2 separate regions of the Homo sapiens genome follow, and region 1 is linked to region 2. Evidence: promoter capture Hi-C in 16 types of primary human blood cells and fetal thymus (Javierre and others, 2016). All regions are on one chromosome and are shown on one strand. Each heading gives the region's core, a stretch centred on a gene start or on the middle of the fragment in contact. The rest is flanking DNA. Distances are from core to core; before and after follow the strand shown. Region 1 holds the start of PREB (prolactin regulatory element binding). Region 2 overlaps TRIM54 (tripartite motif containing 54).

Evidence for each region. The method cuts DNA at HindIII sites, captures the fragments that hold promoters and counts their contacts. A CHiCAGO score of 5 or more calls a contact.
Region 1: a contact is called between the fragment with the promoter of PREB here and a fragment that was not itself captured in region 2, in 5 of 17 cell types (naive B cells, M2 macrophages, total B cells and 2 more). The highest score is 7.7, in naive B cells.

Annotation. Positions count from the first base shown.
Region 1 is chr2:27,132,265-27,138,651 of GRCh38, forward strand. PREB (prolactin regulatory element binding) reads right to left here and starts at 2,372. Exons shown (of 9, transcript NM_013388.6): 1 at 2,023-2,372; 2 at 1,268-1,457; 3 at 853-1,073; 4 at 579-659; 5 at 339-463; 6 at 1-139. The coding sequence starts at 2,157. PRR30 (proline rich 30) reads right to left here. Exons shown (of 3, transcript NM_178553.4): 3 at 4,584-6,387. The coding sequence starts at 6,065. The coding sequence ends at 4,827. RefSeq lists a silencer at 2,091-2,190 and enhancers at 2,129-2,785, 2,261-2,310. The HindIII fragment of the contact is 5,539 bases long and covers 754-6,292 here.
Region 2 is chr2:27,291,123-27,297,423 of GRCh38, forward strand. The region is part of intron 1 of TRIM54 (tripartite motif containing 54); the gene reads left to right. Among named protein-coding and RNA genes, the nearest start is that of TRIM54, 12 kb to the left of the region's middle. The HindIII fragment of the contact is 823 bases long and covers 1,167-1,989 here.

The DNA.
Region 1 (6,387 bases), core at 1,122-3,621, 160 kb before region 2:
GGACTTGGTCCGAAGGGGCAAGAAGTTGGAGCCATCCCAGGCTGTGAGGTAGCAGGGAGGGGGCTGGCGCAGGCGCTTGTGGGGAATTTGCACTGTGAAGAGTCGCAGGCCAGCAGGCTGGTCTGGAACCTGCCCAAACCTGGGGGCCGGATGAGGGGCTATTCAGCTCCTAGGGCCTGCCCAACCCTCCTCAGAGGTTTGTGCACCACCTGCACCCTGGTCAGACCTGGGGTAACACTCAACAAGTTCCTCCCCAGCTCTCCCATCCCCAGTCTTTTCCCTCTCCCCCACCACAGCTGGGCTATGCCTCTTTCAGCCACCACCCAAAGTCTTCACACCTGCAGGCCTGGTAGCGGTAAGGTGTGCTGGAAAAGGTGGGTCCATTTTCTTGCCAGTGCAGCTGTGTCACCAGCTGATCCTTCTGCCACACAGAGGCCTTAAGGTCCCGGCCCACGGTTACCAACTAGTTAGGAATAAAGATTCCAAGGATGGACAGTTAGGGGATCCACTTACTGGGCAAGCAGCATAAGCACCTCCTCTCTCCTTTCTCCATCCTCCTCCCACCCCCAGCCCCTCACCTTGCCATCAGGCCCTAAAGCCAGGTCTTCAATCTCCCCTTCGTGGGCTTTGAACTCCAGAACCTTCTCCAGGCTGGGCACCTGTAGCCAAACAACCACCATGGTTAACTCAGGTGTCCAGCAAGTACACTGTGACTGATGCCCACGCCACCCCTTCTAATGGCCCCTCAATGCAAGCTTCATTCACAAGTTTCCCAGATGCCACGTTCAACTTCTCACAATTTTGATCCTGTTGCTACTGACATTCACCCTCCCTAACCCTGCAAACCCACACCTTCCAGACACGGACGTAGCCATCTGTTCCTCCAGTGGCAAGCAGGGTATTATCGTGGTTGAAGCACACAACTTTCTGCAGTGGATCGGAGCTAAAGTCTGTCTGCACCGCCTGCAAATTCTCTACCCTGAGTTCTAGCCCCTCGTGCTGGGTTTCCGCTCCACATTTCTTCTCTGCTGGGGCTGCTCCCTTCCTTTGTCGAGGCCCCTGCTCCTTGGAACCTGTAACACAAACACTTGGCCAGGTTCCAGGCTTCTACAGTAAGGAGTACTGGCCCCTCTCTCCATGGCAGGTGCCCATACAACTTCTAGCTTGCTACCAAAACCCTACTTCCAGACCCACTTCTTTAGAGACACCAAGAGTGACCTTACTCGTTCAACCCTTTCCCCAAGGGGGTAGAGAGGGAGCTCCTCACCGGCCTTCTCTGCCTTGTTGCCCTGCTGTTGATGTGCCTGGAAGCGCAGGAGCTGACAGTGGGCATCCTGCCCTGCAGCAAGGATGTCACCAGCCAGTGCCAAGTTCATGGTGGCCCGTGTCTCTGTGTCATGGGAGTGCAGCAAGGAGGCACTCAAGCGCCCATTAATCAGCTCTAGCTGCAGAAAGTGCTGTGGGAGGGGGAACCCGGATGAGCAAGTTCAGGGGTGCCCAGAGAGCACGTTTAGGGAAGAGTCTGATGTCTTACCCCTTTGCTTTCTGCACGTTCTAGTTCACAAGGGTTTCTCGAGTCTTTTTTCTCTCATTTGGGCCTCACAAATCTACACAGTGAGCAGGACTGGGATTATTACCTCTATTTTACAGAACAGGGTGAAGCTCAGGAGAGGGAAGGAACTTAGCCTAAACCCAAATGCACCACTCTCGCCGCTGCTAGAGGGCAGGCAAGACCTCCCGGAAAAGGCCAGTATAAGACCCCTGGAGCTGCTCTGAGGCGGAGCTGAAGCGTTCCTGGCGACTCTGCAGCTGTGTGCAGTTTTCACTTTACCTTAAAAGCCTCTCCTCCGCCCGCTGAGTTCTCGACTGAAATTCGCCCCTGGGCGTCAGGCAAGCGGGTCTTCCCAACAGAAGTGGGCAGGGCCCGAAGCTGGAGTGTGGCCCGCCCCGCGACCCCCCGGCCACCCTGGAATCGCCGCCAGCCCGCAGCAAGACCCAGCCCCAGTGGCCCTGCGCTCTCACCACGCCATTCTTTATGCCTGTCTTGGCGGCGCCTCCTCCGCCCGCAGCGATGAGCAGCCCAGTGCTGGGGTCGACCTGAAGCGCGTACAACGGGAACGGAGCCCGGTACAGCTCTGGCGCCCGGCGCCGGCCCATCCCGCCCGGCGCGCGTTCACTGCCCGCACCGCGGCACCCAGGACATGCCGCGCCGGGCCTTCGACTACTGCCCCGGCGGCTGGTGAACTCGGCCCCGTCGCCGCCGGGAGCACTCCCTACCCCTCTCACACCGGGGAGTTGCCAAAACCCTGACCATCAGCAGGAAGCCGAGCCTCAGCTCGGCTCCGTCCAAGTCGGTCTCGCAGACGCGCACTGCGCATGCGCACCTGTCTCGCGGCTCCCTCCGCGCAGGCGCAGGAGCGCCGACACGCGTCAGCACTAGCCGGCCGCGGGGCCGCGTTTCCCGGGGCGGGGCTTCGGTTCTCCACCCCTGGCGCGGAGGCAGAGTCGCCCAGCACCGACTTCGCCATTTTTGTGCGGGGCGCGGGGCGCGGGCGGAGGAGGTGGAGCCAATGGAGGTTGATGAAGGTCAACCTTTAATAAAGAAATCCGACTCGCGCCTGTAATCCCAGCACTTTGTGAGTCCTAGGCGGGCGGATCAGGAGTTCGAGACCAGCCTGACCAACATGGAGAAACCCCGTCTCTACCAAAAATACAAAGGGCGTGGTGGCGTGCGCCTGTAATCCCAGCTACTCGGGAGCCTGAGGCAGGAGAATCACTTGAACCTGGGAAGTAGAGGTTGCAGTGAGCCGAGATCGCGCCATTGCCATTGCTCTTCAGCCTGGGCAACAAGCAACAAGAGTGAAACTCCGTCTCAAAAAAAAAAAAATCCTCTGCCAGGCACGGTGGTTCATGCCTGTAATCCTCCTGTAATCCCAACACTTTCGGAAAGTCCGAGAGAGGAGGATGGCTTGAGCCCAGGCTTTCGAGACAGCCTGGGCAACATGGGGATCCGTCCCTACGAAATATTTAAAAATTAGCCAAACATCGTGGCACCTGTGGGCCCAGGTGCCCAGGAGGCTCAGGCGGGAGGATCACTTGAGACTGGGAGGTCGAGGCTGCGCTGGACCACCAGTGATGTCACCACTGCACTCCAGCCCCTGGGCAACAGAGCTAGACCCTGTCTCTCACACACATAAAATCCTCAAATAAGGACTGTTCCCATCTGAGGAGTGATATGCCAACTCCTAGGAGCACAGGCCTTTGCATCTTACCTCAGAGAGGAAGTGATTTGCCCGAGGGCACACACCAGAAACCACCGGAGTCTCTTGCTTCTTAACGGAGGCAGCATGAACTTAAAAATAAACCTGACTTCAAATGCTGAATCCATTGCTTCCTCGTATGAGGACACGTCTGTCATCCTTAACGCCTATCGCCCACTTTTGGCAGGGGTGGTGTCTGCCATTCCCTTTCTCAAGGCTTCACACTCCTGGGCTGGTGGCTTGGTGGGTGGCCAGCTGCTTTGCTGGCCTCAGAGGGGGCAGTTTGGCTCCCGGGCAGGTATCTTCTGCGCCTGACACTCCATTCTCCCTCGGGTTTCTGATCTGATGAGGACCTTTGTGCACTCCTGAGAGCGAGCACAAGGGATGTCCTTCCCTGCAAAGAGACGCCCTCTCCTGCATTCTCATTAACCTAAGGTGCACCCAGAGGAATAGCGCAGTGGCTTCATCTTTGGGGATGCCAATATCTGTCCCACAGAGTTGAATTAGATGTGTGAAGGGCCTGGCCAAGCTCTCTGCATATCTCAAGTCCCCAGGCCTTGTGGGTCCCTTGTCCTCCTTGGATACATGGCACCTGCTCTTTCTGGCCTCTCCGTTTCCTTTGACACCACCCTCCAGGGTCTTTTTTATTTTTTGAGACGGAGTCTCGCTCTGTTGCCCAGTCTGGAGTGCAGTGGCCTGATCTCAGCTCACTGCACCCTCCACCTCCCAGGTTGAAGTGATTCTCCTGCCTCAGCCTCCTGAGTAGCTGGAACTACAGGCACCCGCCACCACACCCAGCTAATTTTTGTATTTTTAGTAGAGATGGAGTTTCACCATGTTGGCCAGGCTGGTCTCGTAACTCCTGACCTTAAATGATATGCCCACCTTGGCCTCCCAAAGTGCTGGGATTATAGGCATGAGCAACCACACCATGCCCTCTTTTTTTTTTTTTTTTTTTTGAGATAGGGTCTCTGTCACCCAGGCTGGAGTGCAATGGCATGATATAGCTCATTGCAACCTTGAACTCCTGGACTCAAGTGATCCTCCCACTTTAGCCTCTTGAGTAGCTGGTAGTACAGGCACGCGCCACCATACTCAGCTAATTTTTTTATATTTTTGTTTTTGGAGAGACAGGGTCTTGCTATGTTGCCCAGGCTGGTCTCAAACTCGTGGCTTCAAGTGATCCTCCTACCTCAGCCTTCCAGTGTGTTGGGATTATAGGCATGAACCACCCCCTCCCCGCCACCAAGGGTCTTGTTAGGGACTGGCACCCCTATAGTTACAGCCACCTATTCTGTGGACTCAGCAGGACGCAAACACAAGTTTCACAGGGTCAGACTTTATTAGATACACGGAGGGCTGAATGGGGCCTTGGTGCCCTTGGTCCTCTTCAGCCTGGAGACAGCAGACTCCACAAGGGGCTCCCAGGGTTCAGAGCAGGAGAACACACCTGACCTCCGGCCAGCCAGCCCTTCAGGGTGTCTCGGGGACTCCCCGAGATCTGGGGCCTGGTTGGGAGGGTTGGGTTTGGAGGGGGTGTTCCAGGGGGCCTCCGTGGCTCTGGAACTAGACTGATGACTTTTGGAGAATGAGCTCCAGAGAAACTGGCCTCTTTGGGCCAGGGCAAGGCCTGGGCTTCAGGGAGGTAGTGACCTGTTTTGGTGCCCGAGGTGGAGGCCCGGAGAAACATCGTGGGGAGTTTGGTGATTGAAGGCCTGCAGACCTGAAGCTCCTGGTCTGGGAGGGTGTGCCTGGGACTGGGTCGGCCCGGGCCTGAGCTGCTGGAGGCTGAGATGCTGGCAATTGATGCCCACAGGCCTGAGTAGCCTTGCCCTGAGGCCCTGCTTCCTTCGGCCTTTTCTCGGGCAGCAGATGCAAGGCCCTGGCCTGGCCCTGAGGCAGGCGGAGGCCGAAGCCGATGCCTATCCGGAGTGGCCCAGATTCCTGGCCCTGCACACAGGGCAGTAGTTGAGGGAAAGCAAGCAGCCGGGGTCCAGTCCTGTACCTGGGGAGGGGGCAGGAGGGGCTGCGGGGCCGGAGGCACACCAGGCATATAGGATACTCCACGACTGGGGCCTGGCCGGTTCTGCCTAGCCACAGGTGCTGCAAAAGCAGTAGCCGCAGGTCGTGTGCGATGCGGCGGTGCCCCAGCTGGACCACCAGGGCCTGGGCCAGGGCCCCTGGGTCCCTGAACTGTGCAGGATCCTTCTCGCTTGGCACGCATCTCTCCACCACTCCAGGGGACCCGGACCCAGTGTCCCTGTACTGATGCCAGCGCCATGTCTGCCTGTTAGAGTGGAGCCTATGAGAAGGTGGGCTGGGGCCTGGGGAAGTGAGTGTGGAGCTATGCAGTTCCTCGGGGTGGGAAGGGGACTGGCAAGGTGAGTGGGGAAGGGAGGAGTTCTGAGGCTGGGAGGGAGAAAAGGAAGGGGTCAGAGGGGGAGAGGGGTACAGCCAGTGGTTGGAGGGAGAGGATGCACGTGGACGGGGGAGAGAGAGGTAGTTCTGGTGAAAGAAAGTAGGGGAACTTGGGAGAGAGGGAGAATAGGGATGTGGAGCAAAGTCAGAATTTGAGTCACAAGAGCCGAATTGGAAGCCAGGAGAGGGGGATGCTGGTGGAGGGGAGGAGGGACGACGGGACTGAGTGGAAGAGAACGGTGGTTGAGAGGGAGGGAGGCCCTGATGGGGAGAGAGAGGCTGTAGGTTGTGAGGAGAGGAGTCCACAAGTTGTGAGAAGCCCCAAGTGGGGCGCCCAGGGAGCACTGAGGTCTGTGGCAGCACCTGGTCCTTGTTTTGAGGCAACATCGCCTTGAATCCAGAAGGAACTGGGGCAACAAGACTAGGGATAAGAGACCTGGCAGAGTCAGGACCAGTATCTCTGAGGTCAGCTGTGCCTGAGAAATCAAGGCCACCTTCTGTGCGCAGAGCGTGGCTCCAGCCTGGTGTGGGTGCAGGTGCTGGTGGCAGGCCAAGGGGATACCCAGCCCTCCAGCACCAGGCTCTCAGGGTGTTCAGGCATGAGCATGAATCTAAGCTTGGCTTCTCACTTCTTTGCAGTCAACCATTGATGAGGGATGTGTGGGGATGGAGAATCACAGCTGCATCTTGGGAGTGGAGGGGCAGCAGC
Region 2 (6,301 bases), core at 328-2,827:
GTAGGCAGATCACTTGAGTTCAGGAGTTTGAGAGCAGCCTGGCCAACATGGTGAAACCCTGTCTCTACTAAAATATAAAGAAATTAGCTGGGCATGGTGGTGAACGCCTATAGTCCCAGCTACTCAGGAGGCTGAGGCTGGAGAATCACTTGAGCCCGGGAAGCAGAGGTTGCAGTGAGCCGAGATCGTGCCACTGCATTCTAGCCTGGGCTACAGGAGTGAAACCCTGTCGCAAAACAAAAACAAACAAACAAAAAATGACTTTTAAACCTTAAATATTTACTTTATCCTTATTCTATACAATGTAATCCATGAAAAATTGTCAGTTTTTTGTGGACTGTTTTTTTCCTAATATGCATTAGAATTAACACATAAAAAATCTTGAACATCCATCCCCATACCACCTCCAATCTTCATGCTTGTCATCAGTATTATACCATATTTTGGGAAACACAATGAGGGCGTCTAAGCAATATGAGCCAGAGGCCCTGGAAAGTCTGAAGGATAAATTTTACTATTTTATTACAAGTCAAATGTAGTCTTAATGCCAAAAAGCACATGTATGTAAATATTGGCCAGAAAGACTAGCAAAGGAAGTGGGGTTAGGATTTGGCTGGGGGCTAGCATTGCTGAAGCAATCACAGAAGGGAAGGGCTGCCCTGGAGATTAAGATGAAAGCCAGCCAGGCCCGACGGAGATATGGCAGGAGAAATTGGACTTGTGAATCAGGAGGGGACTCTGGGACTGGGGGATGAAAGCTACACGCAAAATACGGGACTGTGGTGTCAGCAGCAGGGAGCAGCACCAGCCCTGAGCAAGACGGTGGGAAAGCAGAGGTGCAGCCTCTCCCCACCGCCCTGCACCCTGAGCTCACACACTCCCGATTTCTCTCTCCCAAGACAGGAACTTTTCAAAGGACTTGGGTTGGACTGCCTGAGTACTGATGCCTCTTAGCCTTCTGGGCTCCAGAATAAATGCAATGACTAACCAATGCGATGAGCTGCTAAAGAAATTGCTTTGGCAGGTGGGAGGGTGTTGAAGAGGTGGTGTTAGTGTGCCTCCCTCAGGTCAAGTCCTGAAGTCAGTTCTGGCTGTGGGGAGTTTGAAGGAAGACATTGGCCAAGATAGCCCAAGTCCTGATTACTTTTTTCTTTCTAAAAATTGTAAGCTTGGCATGGGGTCTCACCCCTGAAATTCCAGCACTTTGGGAGGCTGAGGTAGGAGGATCGCTTGAGGCCAGGAGTTTGACATCAGCCTGGGCAACTAGCAAGACCCTATCTCTGCAGAAACTTTTTTTAAAAATTAGCTGGGCATGGTGGCACACCTGCAGTCCCAGCCACTTGGGAGGCTGAGGTGAGAGGATCCCTCGATCCCAGGAAGTTGAGACGACAGAGAGAGAGATCTTGTCTCAAAAAATTTTTTTTAATTTTTGTAAAATGCACATAACATGAAATGTACCACCTTAACCTTTTAAATGTACAGTTCAATGGCATTACATACATTTACATTGTTGTGAAACTGTCACCACTATCCATCCCCAGAACTTTATCACCACCCCAAACTGAAACCCCACACCCCTTAAACAATACCTCCCTACTCCCCCTCCTTCCAGCAACTGGCAACCACCATCCATCCTATGCCAGGTACCTCATTTAAGAGGAATCATACAATATTTGTCCTTTTGTGTCTGGCTTATTTTGCTTAGCATAATGTCTTCAAGGTTTATCCATGTTACAGACTGCAGACCTGGTTACTTTTAGCTGATAATTTCTATTGCAATCTATGTGACTTTTATCAGCATCATCCATTCTCCTGTCAAATGTGGATTTTTTTTCTGTGTTGATATTTACTTGATTTCTTTCCTTAATTCTGCCAGCTCTCTTTTCTTCTCCAGTTTTGATCACTTATATCTCTTTGTTTTTGTTATTTCTTTTAAAATGGTATATCGAAATGGTATTGATTCTTGGAGTATCTGTCCCTTGTTTGTCAAGCTTTCTTTTTTCTTTTCTTTTTGTATTATCTGGTTTGCATCTTTTGTTGGATTCTGTCTGCTTATCACTCCCCTTTTATCAGGGTACTTTTATCTGGAGCTGAAGGTGAATTCCTGACTCAACCCACTGTGTTTATCTTGGCTTTCTTTCACTGTCCTCTTAAATATAAGCTGCCTGGTTGGATGTTGTCATTGGTTTTGCAATCTCTCTTTAGTTCTGTGCCTTCTTTGGTGAATAGAGGGGTATGACCTGAATTAATAGGTAGTTGAGTGTCTCAATTTGGTTGTGTTGTCTTGGAGTATTTTTCACGCAGAATCCGGTGATTTATCTACCATAGAGGCCCACACAGGTCCATGGGAGGAGGTCTCCCCTGAGATTTGAGCTATTTCCTCTCCATTTCACAGACAAACAGGTCATTCTGGTTGAAAGCAGGGCCCTTATAGAGCTCCATGGCACACAGGGTTTTAATTTGATGAGTCATCTTTTGTTGATCTTTGCTTAAATAGCTTTAGTCCACAGTTGCATAGTTGATTTTCAGGCTGTAGTTTCTTTCCTCTGTGAAGGTTTGAGGTTTGTTCCTTCATTACCCTTTTACTTTTTTTACTTAAAAAACAAAAACAAAAAACGGCCAGGTGAGGTGGCTCACACCTGTAATCCCAGCACTTTGGGAGGCCGAGGTGGGTGGATCACCTGAGGTCAGGAGTTCAAGACCAGCCTGGCCAACATGGGGAAACCCCATCTCTACTAAAAATGCAAAAAATTAGCCGGGCATGGTGGCACGTGCCTGTACTCCCAGCTACTCAGGAGGCTGAGGCAGGAGAATCGCTTGAACCCGGGAGGTGGAGGTGGCAGTGAGCCAAGATCCTGCCACTGCACTCCAGCCCGACGACAGAGTGAGACTCTGTCTCAAAAACAACAACAACAATAATAACAACAACAACAACAGTAAAAGAAACTGCCTCTGCCTGAGACTCAGAGAAATGAATATTAGCTCTAAGGGTTTTTTTGTTTTGTTTTTTGTTTGTTTTGTTTTTGAGACAGGTCTCCCTCTGTCACCCATGCTGTAGTGCAGTGGCATGATCACAGCTCACTGCAGCCTTGACTTCCTGGGCTCAAGTGATCCTCCCACCTCAGCCTCCCAAATACCTGGGACTAAAGGCATGAGCCATCTTGCTTTTTCTTCTTTTTGTAGAGACGTGGTTTCACTGTACTGCCCAGGCTGGTCTTGAACTCCTGCACTCAAGCCATCCTGCTGCCTTGACCTCCCAAAGTGTTGGGATTACAGTCATGAGCCACCGTGCACAGCCTGGCCTAAGTTTTATTGTGTCTGACAATGGAACACAATGATTATTAGGACAGGCTCTGGAGTCAGAGTGCCTAAGTTCCAGTACTGGCTTTGCCACCTATTAGCTCATGACCGTGTACAATTTATTTAATTTCACTGAGACACAATTTCCTCATCCTTGAAATGGGGCTAAGACTATTACCTACTTCAGGGCCAGGCATGGTGGCTCACGCCTGTAATCCCAGCACTTTGGGAGGCTGAGGTGGGCGGATCATGAGGTCAGGAGATTGAGACCATCTGGCCAACATGGTGAAACCCTGTCTCTACTAAAATACAAAAAAATTAGCCGGACATAGTGGCAGGCGCCTGTAGTCCCAGCTGCTTGGGAGGCTGAGGCAGGGGAATCGCTTGAACCCAGGAGATGGAGGTTGCAGTGAGCTGAGATTGCACCACTGCACTCCGGCCTGGGCGACAGAGCAAGACTCCATCTCAAAAAAAAAAAAAAAAAAAAAGAGTATTACCTACTTCAGGGTTGATATGAGGATTAAGTGAATTAATACAAATGAAAGACTTAGAGCAAATCCTGGCTCAGTAGATGTTAGCCATTATTATTCTATTTCTTGTAGACTAAGTTAGGAGTGATTGTTCACCTCCTCGACCATCTTTTTTTGTTTGTTTGTTTTTTGAGACAGAGTCCTGCTCTGTCGCCCAGGTTGGAGTGCAATGGCGCAATCTCGGCTCATTGCAACCTCGGCCTCCTGGGTTCGACTCCAGGGTTTGAGTGATTCTTGTGCCTCAGCCTCCCGAGTAGCTGGGATCCTCAACCATCTTTACAAGAAGTTCTTGAGGAATAAATACAACAATGTCTGGAAAACCCATGACACGATGCTTGACACATGATAAGCCCTCAAAACATATTTTTTTTGAGACGGAGTTTCACTCTTGTCTCCCAGGCTGGAGTGCAATGGTATGATCTTGGCTCACTGCAGCCTCCACCTCCCGGGTTCAAGCAATTCTCTTGCCTCAGCCTCCCAAAGTATCTGGGATAACAGGCGCCTGCCACCGCACCCAGCTAATTTTTGTATTTTTAGTAGAGACGGGATTTCACCGTGTTGGCCAGGCTGGTCTCGAACTCTTGACCTCATGATCCACCCACCTCGGCCTCCCAAAGTGCTGGGATTACGGGCATGAGCCAGCGCGCCTGGTCTCAAAACATTTGTTGAATGTTAAGTAATGAGTATCCCTGCCTTTGTGGCTCAGGAAGAGGAAGGGTGCAGTGAGGGATGGAGGTTGGGGAGAGCGGCTGCCCAAGAGTTTATCTTTGCTGTGGGATATAGGTCCCCCTTCCTCCCATTCAAATATCTCTATATGCTTGCCATCAGCAAATCAAAGATAAGAAAGACAGGAGACTGCAGCCTTAGAGTTCTCCCAACACCTCTTTCCTCACTTGGGTTCTAAATATTGAAAAGTAATTGTATTAAGCAAACAAAAGGCAAGTGATTATACACTTTAACGCATTCCCTAAACTAAACTCAACAATATTCATACATTTCTAGCTACTGAGAAGGCAGATGTACAAACATGCCTTGAATTATCTCAAACTAATCTGCCCCAGGTTTATGATGGGCTTAAAGGTTAACATGATTCTCAAGAAATCCCAAGAAAGATGTGATATTTATGGCACACACCAGTTACTCTCCCCAAGATAAGCTGCTCACTTCACAGTGGGTCCACGTTTCCTGCCTTGCCTACAGCCCTTGCTACCAAAGGATCAAACAAGACCCTTGACTTGGCTGCACTCTGTGCATGATGGGGTGTTGCTGCACACACGCAAGGGGCCTTCCAAACTGTCTTCTGGTTTGTGTATGGTGTAAGGGTTTGGAGAAGTTCATGCATCCCAGTTGTAGGAAGTGCATCTCACTATGCTAGCTCATAGGTGACCACTGTCTCCATTACTCTCTAGGAATGCATAATCTTCCAGCCAGTTGGGATTAGGTTCTGTTCTAAGTGGCAGAAACCCCAGAATAACAGTGGCTTAAAGAGGGTAAAAATTTGCTTTATTCTCAAGTGAAAGTATGGGTGGACAGTGCAGGACTGCCTCATCAGAGACCTCCTTTCATCTCGTTACCATTCTCAACATGTGGCTGCCACTTCATGGCTCAAGACGGCTGCTTCAACTTGAGCCATCCCGTCTTCTTTCCAGCCAGCAGGCAGGAGAAAAGGGGAGGAGCAGGGCATGCCCCTCCCATGAAAGACGGTTTGTGCAATTTCCTACAAATTACACAAAACATTTGCATCTACATCCCAGAGCACAGCCAATTGGCCACACCCAGCTGGAAGGGAGGCTTAGATTCATGGGTTTTTTGGTTTGTTTTTTTGAGATGGAGTTTCCCTCTGTTGCCCAGGCTGGAGTGCAGTGGTACTATCTCAGCTCACTGCAGCCTCTGTCTCCTGGTTTCAAGCAATTCTCCTGCCTCAGCCTCCCAAGTGGCTGGGACTACAGGTGTGCACCACCGTGCCCAGCTAATTTTTTTATTTTTAGTAGAGATGAGTTCTTGCTATGTTGCCCAGGCTGGTCTCAAACTCCTGAGCTCAAGTGATCTGCCCACCTCGGCCTCCCAAAGTGCTGGGATTACAGGCATGAGCCACCACACCCAGCCCTTTATACCATGTGTCTTGTTAAAACTCAGGGCACTTATTATTAAAGAAGAAAAGGTGGTGAACGTCAGGGTACAATAAGCAGTGTCTGCCAGTCTTTCATCTCTGCATCTCCCCACACATAGACTCTTTTCTCTGTAGACCAGCCTTCTCTGTTCAGTTTCTGACCCCTTACACTTTCCAGGGTGGCCGTGATGTCAGCTCTTAGCCCAATTCCACAGGTCTATTCAATTCCTAAGCAGAACATGGCGTAGCCAGCTAAGCCCCTGAGTCTCAAGTCCAAATTCTTAGGAGAGAATATTTGATTGGTTCTGCTTGGGTCAGGTGATCACCTCCTTAGCTCTGAATCAATCATCTGTGGCAGGGA